2 separate regions of the Homo sapiens genome follow, and region 2 is linked to region 1. The links are contacts of gene promoters, found by promoter capture Hi-C in human tissues and cell types (Jung and others, 2019). All regions are on one chromosome and are shown on one strand. Each heading gives the region's core, a stretch centred on a gene start or on the middle of the fragment in contact. The rest is flanking DNA. Distances are from core to core; before and after follow the strand shown. Region 1 overlaps ZNF791 (zinc finger protein 791). Region 2 holds the start of FARSA (phenylalanyl-tRNA synthetase subunit alpha).

Region 1 (5,701 bases), core at 954-3,453:
ACACTTCTACTAACACTGGTCTTTAAAAGAAAAAAAAAATACACTTCAGGCCGGGTGCGGTGGCTCAAGCTTGTAATCCCAGCACTTTGGGAGGCTGAGGCGGTCGAATCACGAGGTCAGGAGATTGAGACCATCCTGGCTTAACACGGTGAAACCCCATCTCTACTAAAAATACAAAAAAAATTAGCTGGGCATGGTGGCGGGCGCCTGCAGTCCCAGCTACTGGGGAGGCTGAGGCAGGAGAATGGCGTGGACCCGGGAGGCGGAGCTTGCAGTGAGCCGAGATCACACCGCTGAACTCCAGCCTGGGCAACAGAGCAAGACTCCGTCTCGAAAAAAAAAAAATACACTTCAGTTTACTCATGAATCAAGACATCAAGAGAAAGAGAAAAGTTTTACTAACTGATTTAATGAGAAAACACAACCTTTTAAACTTTTGACCACTGCTTAAAGAGTACTTACAGAATTATCTCACTTCCAAGACTTCTTGGAAAAGTAGTTAAGTTACAATTCATAGTCCAGAGATGTACTTGAAGAATGAGCCAGTGATAAAAAATTTTTAACTTTTTTTTGGTGTGTGGGATGGAGTCTTGCTCTGTTGCCCAGGCTGGAGTGTAGTGGCACAATCTCAGCTCACTGCAGCCTCCACCTCCCAGGTTCAAATGATTCTCCTGCTTCAGCCTCCCAAGTAGCTGGAATTACAGGTGCATGCCACCACGCTCAGGTAATTTTTGTATTTTTAGTAGAGATGGGGTTTCACCGTCTTGGCCAGGCTGGTCTCGAACTCCTGACCTCAGGTGATCTGCCTGCCTTGGCCTCCCAAAGTGCTGGGATTACAGGCATGAGCCACCATGCCTTGCCTTAACTTTTATATCGTGTGTGATGAATTTATATCATGGTGTGAATTTTCTGGAGCATTTTACAGGCAGAGATTGCTTAATCATGGGTATATGTTCTGAGAAACGTGTTGTAGGTGATTTCCTCATGGTACAAACATCACAAAGTGAACTTACACAAATCTAGATGGTATAGCTACAACACATCTAGACTATATGGTACAGTCTATTGCTACTAGGCTATAAACCATACAACATGTTGTTGTACTGAACACTGTAGGAAATTGTAACAAAATGTTAAGTATTTATGAGTCTAAACACAGAAAATACACAGAGTAAACATGCAGTATAAAAGATAAAAAAGGATGCACCTGCATAGGACACTCCATGAACATAGCTTGCAGGACTAGAAGTTGCTCTGGGTGAGTCAGTTGAGTGGTGAGTGAATGCGAAGGCCCAGGATGTTACTGTACACTAATGGAGAATTTATAAACACTGTACACTTGGACTACACTACATTCATAAAAACATTTTTTCCTCAATAATGAATAAACCTTAACTTACTGTACATTATTTTCTTTATAAACTTATTTTTAAAAACTTTGTAATAATTTAGCTTAAAACACATTGTACAGCTGTACAAAAATATTTTATGTCCATATTCTATAAGCTTTTTCTATTAAATTTTTTTAAACTATTTTTGTTAAAGACTAACTAAGACACAAACACACATTAGTGTAGGACTACACGGGGTGAGGATCATCAATATCATTGTCTTCTGCCTCCATGTTTTGTCCCGCCAGAATACGTTCAGGGGCAGTCCTGCACATGGAGCCGTCATCGCCTATCATAACAAAGTTTTTCCGGGAATATCTCCTTAAGGACCTGCCTGAGACTGTCTTACTGTTAAAAAAACACAGGAATACATTCTAAAACAGGATTGTAAATATATAAACCAGTAACTTAGCCATTTATTATCAAGTATATATTGCACATCTGTGCTGTAATTTTTTTTTTTTCGAGACGGAGTCTCGCTCTGTCACCCAGGCTGGAGTGTAGTGGTAGATCTCAGCTCACTGCAATCTCCACCTCCCGGGTTCAAGCGATTCTCCTGCTTTGGCCTCCCAAGTAGCTGGGACTACAGGCACACCAGAACGCCCAGCTAATTTTCGTATTTCTAATGGAGACAGGGTTTCATCATGTTGACCAGGCTGGTCTTGAACTCCTGACCTCAACTGATTCTCCCACCTCAGCCTCCCAAAGTGCTGGGATTACAGGTATGAGCCACTGTGCCCAGCCAATTTTTTTTTTTTTTTTTTGATACAGTCTCACTGTCACCCATGCTGGACTGCCATCACGTGATCTTGGTTCACTGTAGCCTTGAACTCCTGGGCTCAGGCAATCCTCCTGCCTCAGCCTCCCATGTAGATGGGACTACAGGGTGTGCTACCACACTTAGAAAATGTTTTTATTTTTTGTAGAGACAGGGTCTCACTAGGTTGACCAGAGTAGTCCTGGCATCAAGCAATCCTACTGCCTTAGTCTCCCAGTGTTGGGATCACAGGTGTGACCATGCCCAGCTGTGTTGTACTTTTTTTTTTTTTTTTTTTTTGAGACAGAGTCTCGCTCTGTTGGCCGGATCTCAGCTCACTGTCAGCTCGGCCTCCTGGGTTTATGCCATTCTCCTGCCTCAGCCTCCCAAGTAGCTGGGACTACAGGCGCCCACCACCACGCCCGGCTAATTGTTTGTATTTTTAGTAGAGATGGGGTTTTACCGTGTTAGCCAGGATGGTCTTGATCTCCTGGCCTCGTGATCCGCCCGCCTTGGCCTCCCAAAGTGCTGGGATTACAGGCGTGAGCCACCGTCCCCGGCCGCTGTCTTGTACTTTTATACAACTGAAAGTGCAGCACGTTTACACCAGCACCATAAACACTTAAATAATGTGCTGCACTATGGTGTTACTACTGCTACTAAATTGCGGTTGATAGAAATGTTTTAGGTGTTATATAATCTTATGGGGCTACCAACCTATATGGTCCATTGCTGACTGAAACATGATTATGTGGTACCTGACTATACATGAATCATCTTGTATCTCGCTTTCTATATTACTTACATTGACAGGATTTCTCTCTTCAGTGGGAATTTTCACAACTTTGAAAGCATCTGTTAGAATTGAAAACTTTCTCCTATTTCTCACATTTATAGAGTTTCTATCGATTGTGCATTCTCATATGTTTTTTTAAGGATGTGGACACACTGAAGGCTTTTCCACATTGCTTACATTCAAGAGGTTTCTCATAATTGTGAATTCTTGTATGTCTTTGAAAGGAACTGTGAAGACTAAAGGCCTTCCCACATTCTTTACATTTATAGGGTTTCTCTCCAGTATGCATTCTCATGTGTCCTTGAAAGCTTGTGGGATAAATAAAGGCCTTCCCGCATTCCTTACATTCATAAGGTTTCTCCCCAGTGTGAGTTCTTTTATGTATCCGAATGTAACTAGAACAACTAAAGGCTTTTCCACATTGTTTACATTCATAGGGTTTCTCTCCAGTGTGAGTTCTTTCATGTGTTCGTAACGCACTAGGAAAAATGAACACCTTCCCACAGTCCCTACATTTATAAGGTCCGTCTCCAGTGTGGGTGATCATGTGTCTTCGAAAGTTCTCAAGAGAAATGAAGGTTTTTGCACATTCCTTACACTCATAGGGTTTTTCTCCAGTGTGATTTCTCTTGTGGATTTTCAAATCTAGAGGATAATTGAAAGTTTTCCCACATTTTTTACATTCGTAGGGTTTCTCTCCAGTGTGAGTCCTTTCATGTATTCGAAAGTAACTGATTCTACTAAAGGCTTTCCCACATTCTTTACACTTATAGGGTTTCTCTCCAGTATGCACTCTCACGTGTACTCGAAAGGCTGGGCGTGCACTGAAAGATTTCCCACATTCTTTACATTTATAGGGCTTCTCTCCAGTATGAATTCTTTCATGAATTTGAATGGAGGTGGAACATCTGAAGGCTTTACCACATTGTTTACATTTATAGGGTTTCTCTCCAGTGTGAATTCTTTCATGTACTCGTAAAAAACTGGGAAAAATGAATGCCTTTCCACATTCTTTGCATTTATAAGGTCTATCTCCGTTGTGTGTTATCATGTGTGTTAGAACACTTGTGTGGGAAATGAAGGCTTTCCCACATTCCTTACATGCATAGGGTTTCTCTCCAGTGTGAGTTCTTTCGTGTACTCGAATAGAACTGGAACAACTGAAGGCTTTCCCACATTGTTTACATTCATAGGGCTTTTCTCCAGTGTGAATCCTTTCATGAACTCGAAGCGAACTGGAACAACTAAGAGCTTTTCCACATTGCTTACATTCATAGGGTTTTTCTCCAATGTGAGTCCGCTCATGTCTTTGAAAGGGCTGGTGATATATGAAGGTTTTTCCACATTGTTTACATTTATAGGGTTTTTCTCCAGTGTGACTCCTTTCATGTCTTTGAAAGGATTTGAGATAACTAAAGGCTTTCTCACACTCCTTACATTTATATGGCTTCTCAAATAGCTCGTATCCAGTGTGAGACCTCATGTGTCTAGTAAGGGATGAGAGACGCATGAAGGCTTTTCCACAGATAGTACACTCATATGGTTTTACTCCGGCAGTCTTCTTCGTCACACTGAGATTGGGACTGAAGTTTTCTGCACATTGACTACCTTCTTTACCTTCACAGAGTCTCTCTCCCGTATGGCTTCTGTAAAAAATTAGAAGCACGGTAATACTGGTTGTGTATTAATGATTTTATATGTATTATCGGGTAGTAGAACTAAAGTTCTTTTTTCTTTTTTGAGACGGAGTCTTGTTCTTGTTCCCCAGGCTGGAGTGCAATGGTGCGATCTCAGCTCACTGCAACCTCCACCTCCCAGCTTCAAGCAATTCTCCTACCTCGGCCTCCCAAGTAGCTGGGATTACAGGCATGCGCCACCACGCCCAGCTAATTTTGTATTTTTAGTAAAGCCGTGGTTTCACCATGCTGGTCAGGCTGGTCTTGAACTCCTGACCTCAAGTGATCTGCCCGCCTTGGCCTCCCAAAGTGCTGGGATTACAGGCGTGAGCCACCGCACCCGGCAGCAGAACTAAATTTTTATCATTTTCAGGGAAATAGTTTTCTGCCCCGTCTGACTTGTTTAAAAACGAATATACTCAATGTTCTGCAAGAGGGCTTGTGTCACTGATAGCTATTATCAAAACAGTAATATTGAGGTATGGGTTTTTTTTTTTTTGGTTTCATTTTGAGACAGAGTCTCACTCTGTCACCCGCACTGGAGTACAGTGATGCAATCATGGCTCACTGCAGCCTTGACCTCCCGGGCTCAATCAATCCTCCCACCTCAGCCTCCCATGTAGCTGGGACTACAGGCATGCACCACCACAACTGACTGAATTTTCTGTTTCTTGTAGAGACAGGGTCTCGTCTTGTTGCCCAGGCTGGTTTCGAACTCCTGAGCTCAAATGATCTGCTCACCTTGGCTTCCGGAAATTATATGTGAGGCTTTAAAGTACTGTTTCTGGGCGGGCACAGTGGCTCACGCCTGTAATCCCAGCACTTTGGGAGGCCGAGACGGGCAGATCATGAGGTCAGGAGATCAAGACCACCCTGGCTAACAGGGTGAAACCCCGTCTCTACTAAAAATACAAAAAAATTAGCCGGGCGTGGTGGTGGGCGCCTGTAGTCCCAGCTACTCGGGAGGCTGAGGCAGGAGAATGGCGTGAACCTGGGAGGCGGAGCTTGCAGTGAGCTGAGATGGCACCACTGCACTCCAGCCTGGGTGACAGAGCAAGACTTCGTCTCAAAAATAAAAATA
Region 2 (5,561 bases), core at 672-3,171, 300 kb before region 1:
GGTTGAATGACATAAATAACAGATCTAGGATTCTTTTTTTTTTTTTTTTTTTTTTTTGAGACAGAGCCTTGCTCTGTCACCGAGGCTGGAGTGCAGTGGTGCGATCTCTGCTCACTGCAAGCTCCACCTACCAGGCTCAAGTGATTCTCCTGCCTCAGCTTCCCGTGTAGCTGGGATTACAGGCACCCCCACTGCACCCAGCTAATTTTTGTGTTTTTAGAGGAGATGGGGTTTCGCCATCTTGGCCAAGCTGGTCTTGAACTCCTGACCTCAGGTGATTCACCCGCCTCAGCCTCCCAAAGTGCTGGGATTACTGAGCCTGGCCAGCAGATCTAGGATTCTAATCTACCTGTGCTGACGTAAGTCACCACTGCCCACATGTGATTACTGACCATTTGAAATGTGGTTGGTCCGAACTGAGATGTGTTGTAAGTGTAAAATACGCATCAGATTTTGAAGATTTAGTATGAAAAAAAGTGCAATTTTTTTTTTTTTGAGACGGAGTTTCGCCTTGTCACCCAGGCTGGAGTGCAATGACACGATCTCGGCTCACCACAACCTCTGCCTCCCAGGTTCAAGCGACTCTCCTGCCTCAGCCTCCCAAGTAGCTGAGATTACAGGCATGCGCCACCACGCCCTGCTAATTTTGTATTTTTAGTAGAGACGGGGTTTCTCCATGTTGGTCAGGCTGGTCTCAAACTCCCGACCTCAGGTGATCCACCCGCCTCGGCCTCCCAAAGTGCTGGGATTACAGAGGTGAGCCACTGTGCCCGGCCGAGTGCAAAATATTTTATTAGTCATCTTTTTTTTTGTAAGAGTCAGGGTCTGGCTGGCTGGGCGAGGTGGGTCATGCCTCTAATGCCAGCATTTTGGGAGACCGATGCAGGAGGATAACCTGAGCCTAGGAGTTTGAGACCAGCCTGGGCAACATGGCCAAAACCCATACTTAAAAAAAAAAAAAAAGCTGGGTGTGGTGGCGCGCACCTGCAGTTCCAGCTACTCAGGAGCCTAAGGTTGGAGGATCCTTAGAGCCTGGGAAGTCAAGGCTGCAGTAAGCCATAATTGCACCACTGCACTCCAGCATGGGTGACAGAGCAAGACCCTGTCTCAAAAAAGAAAGATGTTTTGCACTGTGTTTCTATAGGACAGTGCTAATCTAGGCCATGCAGTATTTGCACTGACGTTACTCTCAGCGCACAGGGGTGGGAGGATCTGGAAGGTTTATAATTTATGACTTCATTTCCACCAACTCTCTGTAGAACCTTGGGCAAGTCATACCACCCTCTGAGCCTCAGTTTTCTCACATGTGTAATGCGGTTATATCAGTATCTACATCATAAAGTTTTGGGGATAAATGAAATACTACACGTGAAGTACTCAGTTCTGGGCTAAGTACTACCACATACGAGGTAGTCCACACAGGTTAGGTGCCACCTTGACTTACTAGGTGAATTCCTTTTCCCTCTATAAAAAGGGACGGTACCTACCCAGCCTTCCTTTGAAATTTTAAAAGTAGCTGACATCGCCAAAATGACCATCTCTGGAGCCCACCACCCACCGCCTCTCCTAGGGCAAGAGAGAATACCAGAAGGGCAGAGGGTTCTGTAACCCAGAGACGGGGAAGTCCAAGGTCACACAGCCCGCTCGAAGTGAGGCTAGATAAAACTCAAAACAGGGCGGTGCTTCTGACCTTGAGATAATCAATTTTACCCCTCTGGTCAACCAGACGCCATTGATGGAGCCAGGGTGGAGGTGGGAACTGAGTCCCATGCACCTTTTGCGGCTCCGTCGCCACACTCAAGATGACGACACATTGAGCCCTGTTCTACAGTTAGACACATTCAAGATGGCGGTACACACTCCGGTTCCGGTTCCGGTGGCTCAGCTCCCCCCGCCCACCCGGGCCCGGACACGCTGAGCACACTGGAAGGAGTCATGGCGGATGGTCAGGTGGCGGAACTGCTGCTCCGGCGGCTGGAGGCGTCTGATGGCGGCCTGGACAGCGCCGAGTTGGCGGCTGAGCTGGGCATGGAGCACCAGGCGGTGGTGGGCGCCGTGAAGAGCCTTCAGGCGCTGGGCGAGGTGAGCCGGGCCCGTGATGCCGGACCGCCTTGCCCTTGCACCTACAGTCCCCTTGCCACGGGCGCTCTACGTCCAAGCCAAATTCCCTCAGGCCTAGTTTGGGGTAGCTGTATATGTGTCCACTCCGGGATGTGCGGGCGGGAAGTGGGACGAGTGAGGGCCCAGACGCACGGATGTTCCTCATGCAATAAACGTTTATTGAGGCACGGTCAGCGTGGGTAGAGGGTACGATGATGGACGAGGAAGTCGCGGTTGCTGCCCTCACGCAGGTTGCGACGTAATAGGAAGGTGCTTCAAGAACCAGAGTGATGGGGGAAAACAGGGGACCCAGCTGTGACAGCTGACCCAGCCTTGGGGGTCAGGGAGAGCGGCCTGGTGCAGGTGACGGCTGAGTCTGTTCTCTGTTGAGGAAAGTGATAGCACTTTAGAGATCAGTGGCCGGGATCTTGGGGGATGGCAGGCGGCAAGGGAGACCAGCATAGCTGTAATTGCAAAGCCTCTTAGGTCTTTACCTCATGAGGGAACTGGGAAGCGATAGCAGGAGCTAGAGCCGGTCAGATGAGTGTGCTATCCACATCACCTTTGGGAAGAATTGGCATGGACAGGACTGGAGGTGAAGGGATGAAAGAAGAAGCTGGCACTTCCCCAAGCTGGAGGGCATGATGTCTGGCTATGGGAAGGAAGCTTGGGGGAGGTGGGGAAGGCGTGGGATTCAGGACAAGGCAGGGGGCGCACAGATGAAGTCCAGCCTTCTGACTTGGGCAAGTGGACAGTGACAGAGTCACAGGCGTAGGATGCTGAGGGGCCCGTGGGCCACCCAGAAGGCTAGATCCATGGGGCCAGGATCTGGGCTGTTTATCCGTAGAGCTCATGTTCTGTGCCCCACTTTGGTCTCAGCTTGTTTGTCCAATCCATTCCATAATCCTGGCTGATGGCCATGTTATTCCCATTTTGCAGATGTGACAACTGATGGTCAGTAACATAATCAGTGTGAATAGAAGAGGCCGATGAGCCCAGATTTGAAATTAGGCACTCAGGCTGCAGAGCCCATAGTCCTCAATGCAGAGGAGAGATGGCAGCTGTGTTGTGTGGGGTGACAGTGCCTTGACCAATATGATCTGACATTTGTATACGTCACAGAGGGTTAAATAATATAAGGAGGTGAGGTTCAATCTAATGACAGTAATAGCCATAAAAATAATTATAGTAATTAGAATTTATGCCGGGTGCAGTGGTCACACCTGTAATCCCAGCACTTTGGGAGACCAAGGCGGGTGGATCACGAGGTCAGGAGTTCAAGACCAGCCTGGCCAAGATGATGAAACCCTGTCTCTACTAAAAATACAAAAAAAAATTAGCCAGGCGTGTTGGTGGGCACCCGTAATCCCAGCTACTTGGGAGGCTGAGGCAGAGAATTGTTTGAATCGGGAGGTGGAGGTTGCAGTGAGCCGAGATCGCACTCCAGCCTGGGCGACAGAGCGAGACTCCGTCTCAAAAAAAAAAAAAAAAAAAATTTATGCAGTGTTTGTCACGTGGTAGGCACTATATATTCTTTCTGAGTATTAATTTAGCTACTCCTTAAAATCATCTGAGGTAGAACCCATCACACCTTTCTCTTATGGATGAGAAGAGTCACTGAGAGGTTAAGCAACTTTCCTGAGGTCACACAGTAAGTGAAGGGCAGAGTTGGGATTAGAATGAAGTGGGAGCCAGGCCCTGTGCACTCTACTTACCCTTGTTGTCCTTGTCTTCATGACTCTGGACCTGGAACCTCAGTTTTTGTTTGTAATGTGGACCTCCAGGGCCCGTCTCTGACATTCTGGGCACTGACATGTGAACATTTAAACATGGAGACAGGCTGGGTATGGTGGCTCATGCCCATTATGCCAGCACTTTGGGAGGCTGAGGAAGGAGAATCACTTGAGGCCAGGAGTTTGAGACCAGCCTGGACAACATAACAACACCCTGTCTTTAAAAAGTAATTTAAAGGGCCGGGCACGGCGGCTCACGCCTGTAATCCTAGCACTTTGGGAGGCGGAGTCGGCCGATTACGAGGTCAGGAGTTTGAGACCAGCCTGGCCAACATGGTGAAACCCCATCTCTACTAAAAATACAAAAATTAGCTGGGGGTGGTGGTGGGCACCTGTAATCCGAGCTACTCGGGAGGCTGAGGCAGGAGAATCATTTGAACCCGGGAGGCAGAGGTTGCAGTGAACCGAGATCGCACCATTGCACTCTAGCCTGAGCGACAGTGCAAGACTCCGTCTCAAAAAAAAAAAGTAATTTAAAAATTAACCAGGTGTGGCGGCACATGCCTGTAGTCCCAGCTACTCGGGACTGGCGGAAGGATCGCTTGAGCCCAGGAGGTCTAGGCTGCAGTGAGCTATGATCACACCACTGCACCCAGCCTAGTGACAGGGTGAGACCCCCTTTCAAAGAAAACAAAAACAAACAAAAAAATGTGGAGACATATCAGTTCACCTAATTTTTCACATTAAAATCTGTCACAGGTTCAAAACCGACAGAATTTGTCTTCTGCCAGGTAACATCTTTAGTGGTGTACTTTACCCTGGGAGGTGTAAACTATCATTATTACTACCCCTGTGTTACATAAGGGAAATGGAGACACAGCAAGGGGAAGTCTTTCCCTTGAGACCACTTGGCTGTAAAGTTGTATAGCTGGGATGTGAACCTAGCTTTAAGGGCTGTGCTTTCAACCTGGGACCCAGCGCTGCAGAAAGGGGGTGCCTGGCTCTGAGCCTCACCCCTGCCTGGACACCCTCCCCACATTTCCCTCTAGGTCATCGAGGCTGAACTTCGGTCCACCAAGCACTGGGAGCTTACTGCGGAGGGCGAGGAGATTGCCCGGGAGGGCAGCCATGAGGCCCGTGTGTTTCGAAGCATTCCCCCAGAGGGCCTGGCCCAGAGCGAGCTTATGGTAGGAGCTGCGGGGTGAATGGGGAGTGAGTGATGGGATGAAGGTGGCCCTCGTGCCCCACTCACTGCAGCCTCTCTTTTCCAGCGACTGCCCAGTGGCAAAGTGGGCTTCAGCAAGGCCATGTCCAACAAGTGGATTCGGGTGGACAAGAGTGCGGCTGACGGGCCCCGGGTGTTCCGAGTGGTGCGTTCCTGCGGGCTGGTCAGGGGGCAGGTGGACGGGCACATGGGCCCCTGGCCCTCATACCCCTCACACTCCTTATCCTGGCAGGTGGACAGCATGGAGGATGAGGTGCAGCGGCGGCTCCAGCTGGTCCGGGGGGGACAGGCTGAGAAGCTGGGGGAGAAGGAGAGGAGCGAGCTGAGGAAGAGGAAGCTGTTGGCTGAAGTGTGAGTGGGTGCCCCCTGCAGGCTCAGGCCCCCACCACCTGCGAAGCATGGTGGAGGCATGGTGGGAGGGAGACATCTTGCCCACACCAAGCACAGGTGTGGCCAGTTTCCTCCCAGCTCGCTTAATGCCATAGTTGTCAAGCCTACGTGCC

Evidence for each region. Contacts are between HindIII fragments. The study calls those that stand out against the background at their distance.
Region 2: a contact is called between the fragment with the promoter of FARSA here and a fragment that was not itself captured in region 1, in 1 of the 25 tissues and cell types used here (spleen).

What each region holds. Positions count from the first base shown.
Region 1 is chr19:12,626,610-12,632,310 of GRCh38, reverse strand. It overlaps ZNF791 (zinc finger protein 791), which reads right to left. Exons shown (of 4, transcript NM_153358.3): 4 at 1-4,590. The coding sequence ends at 3,051. Among named protein-coding and RNA genes, the nearest start is that of ZNF791, 19 kb to the right of the region's middle. The HindIII fragment of the contact is 6,065 bases long and covers 1-5,235 here.
Region 2 is chr19:12,930,071-12,935,631 of GRCh38, reverse strand. FARSA (phenylalanyl-tRNA synthetase subunit alpha) reads left to right here and starts at 1,921. Exons shown (of 13, transcript NM_004461.3): 1 at 1,921-2,082; 2 at 4,883-5,020; 3 at 5,105-5,203; 4 at 5,291-5,409. The coding sequence starts at 1,936. It overlaps FARSA-AS1 (FARSA antisense RNA 1), which reads right to left and starts at 5,110. Exons shown (of 3, transcript NR_149078.1): 1 at 5,086-5,110; 2 at 2,595-2,662; 3 at 2,336-2,483. RefSeq lists a silencer at 581-686 and enhancers at 1,723-2,017, 1,739-2,238, 2,249-2,318. The HindIII fragment of the contact is 13,322 bases long and covers 1-5,561 here.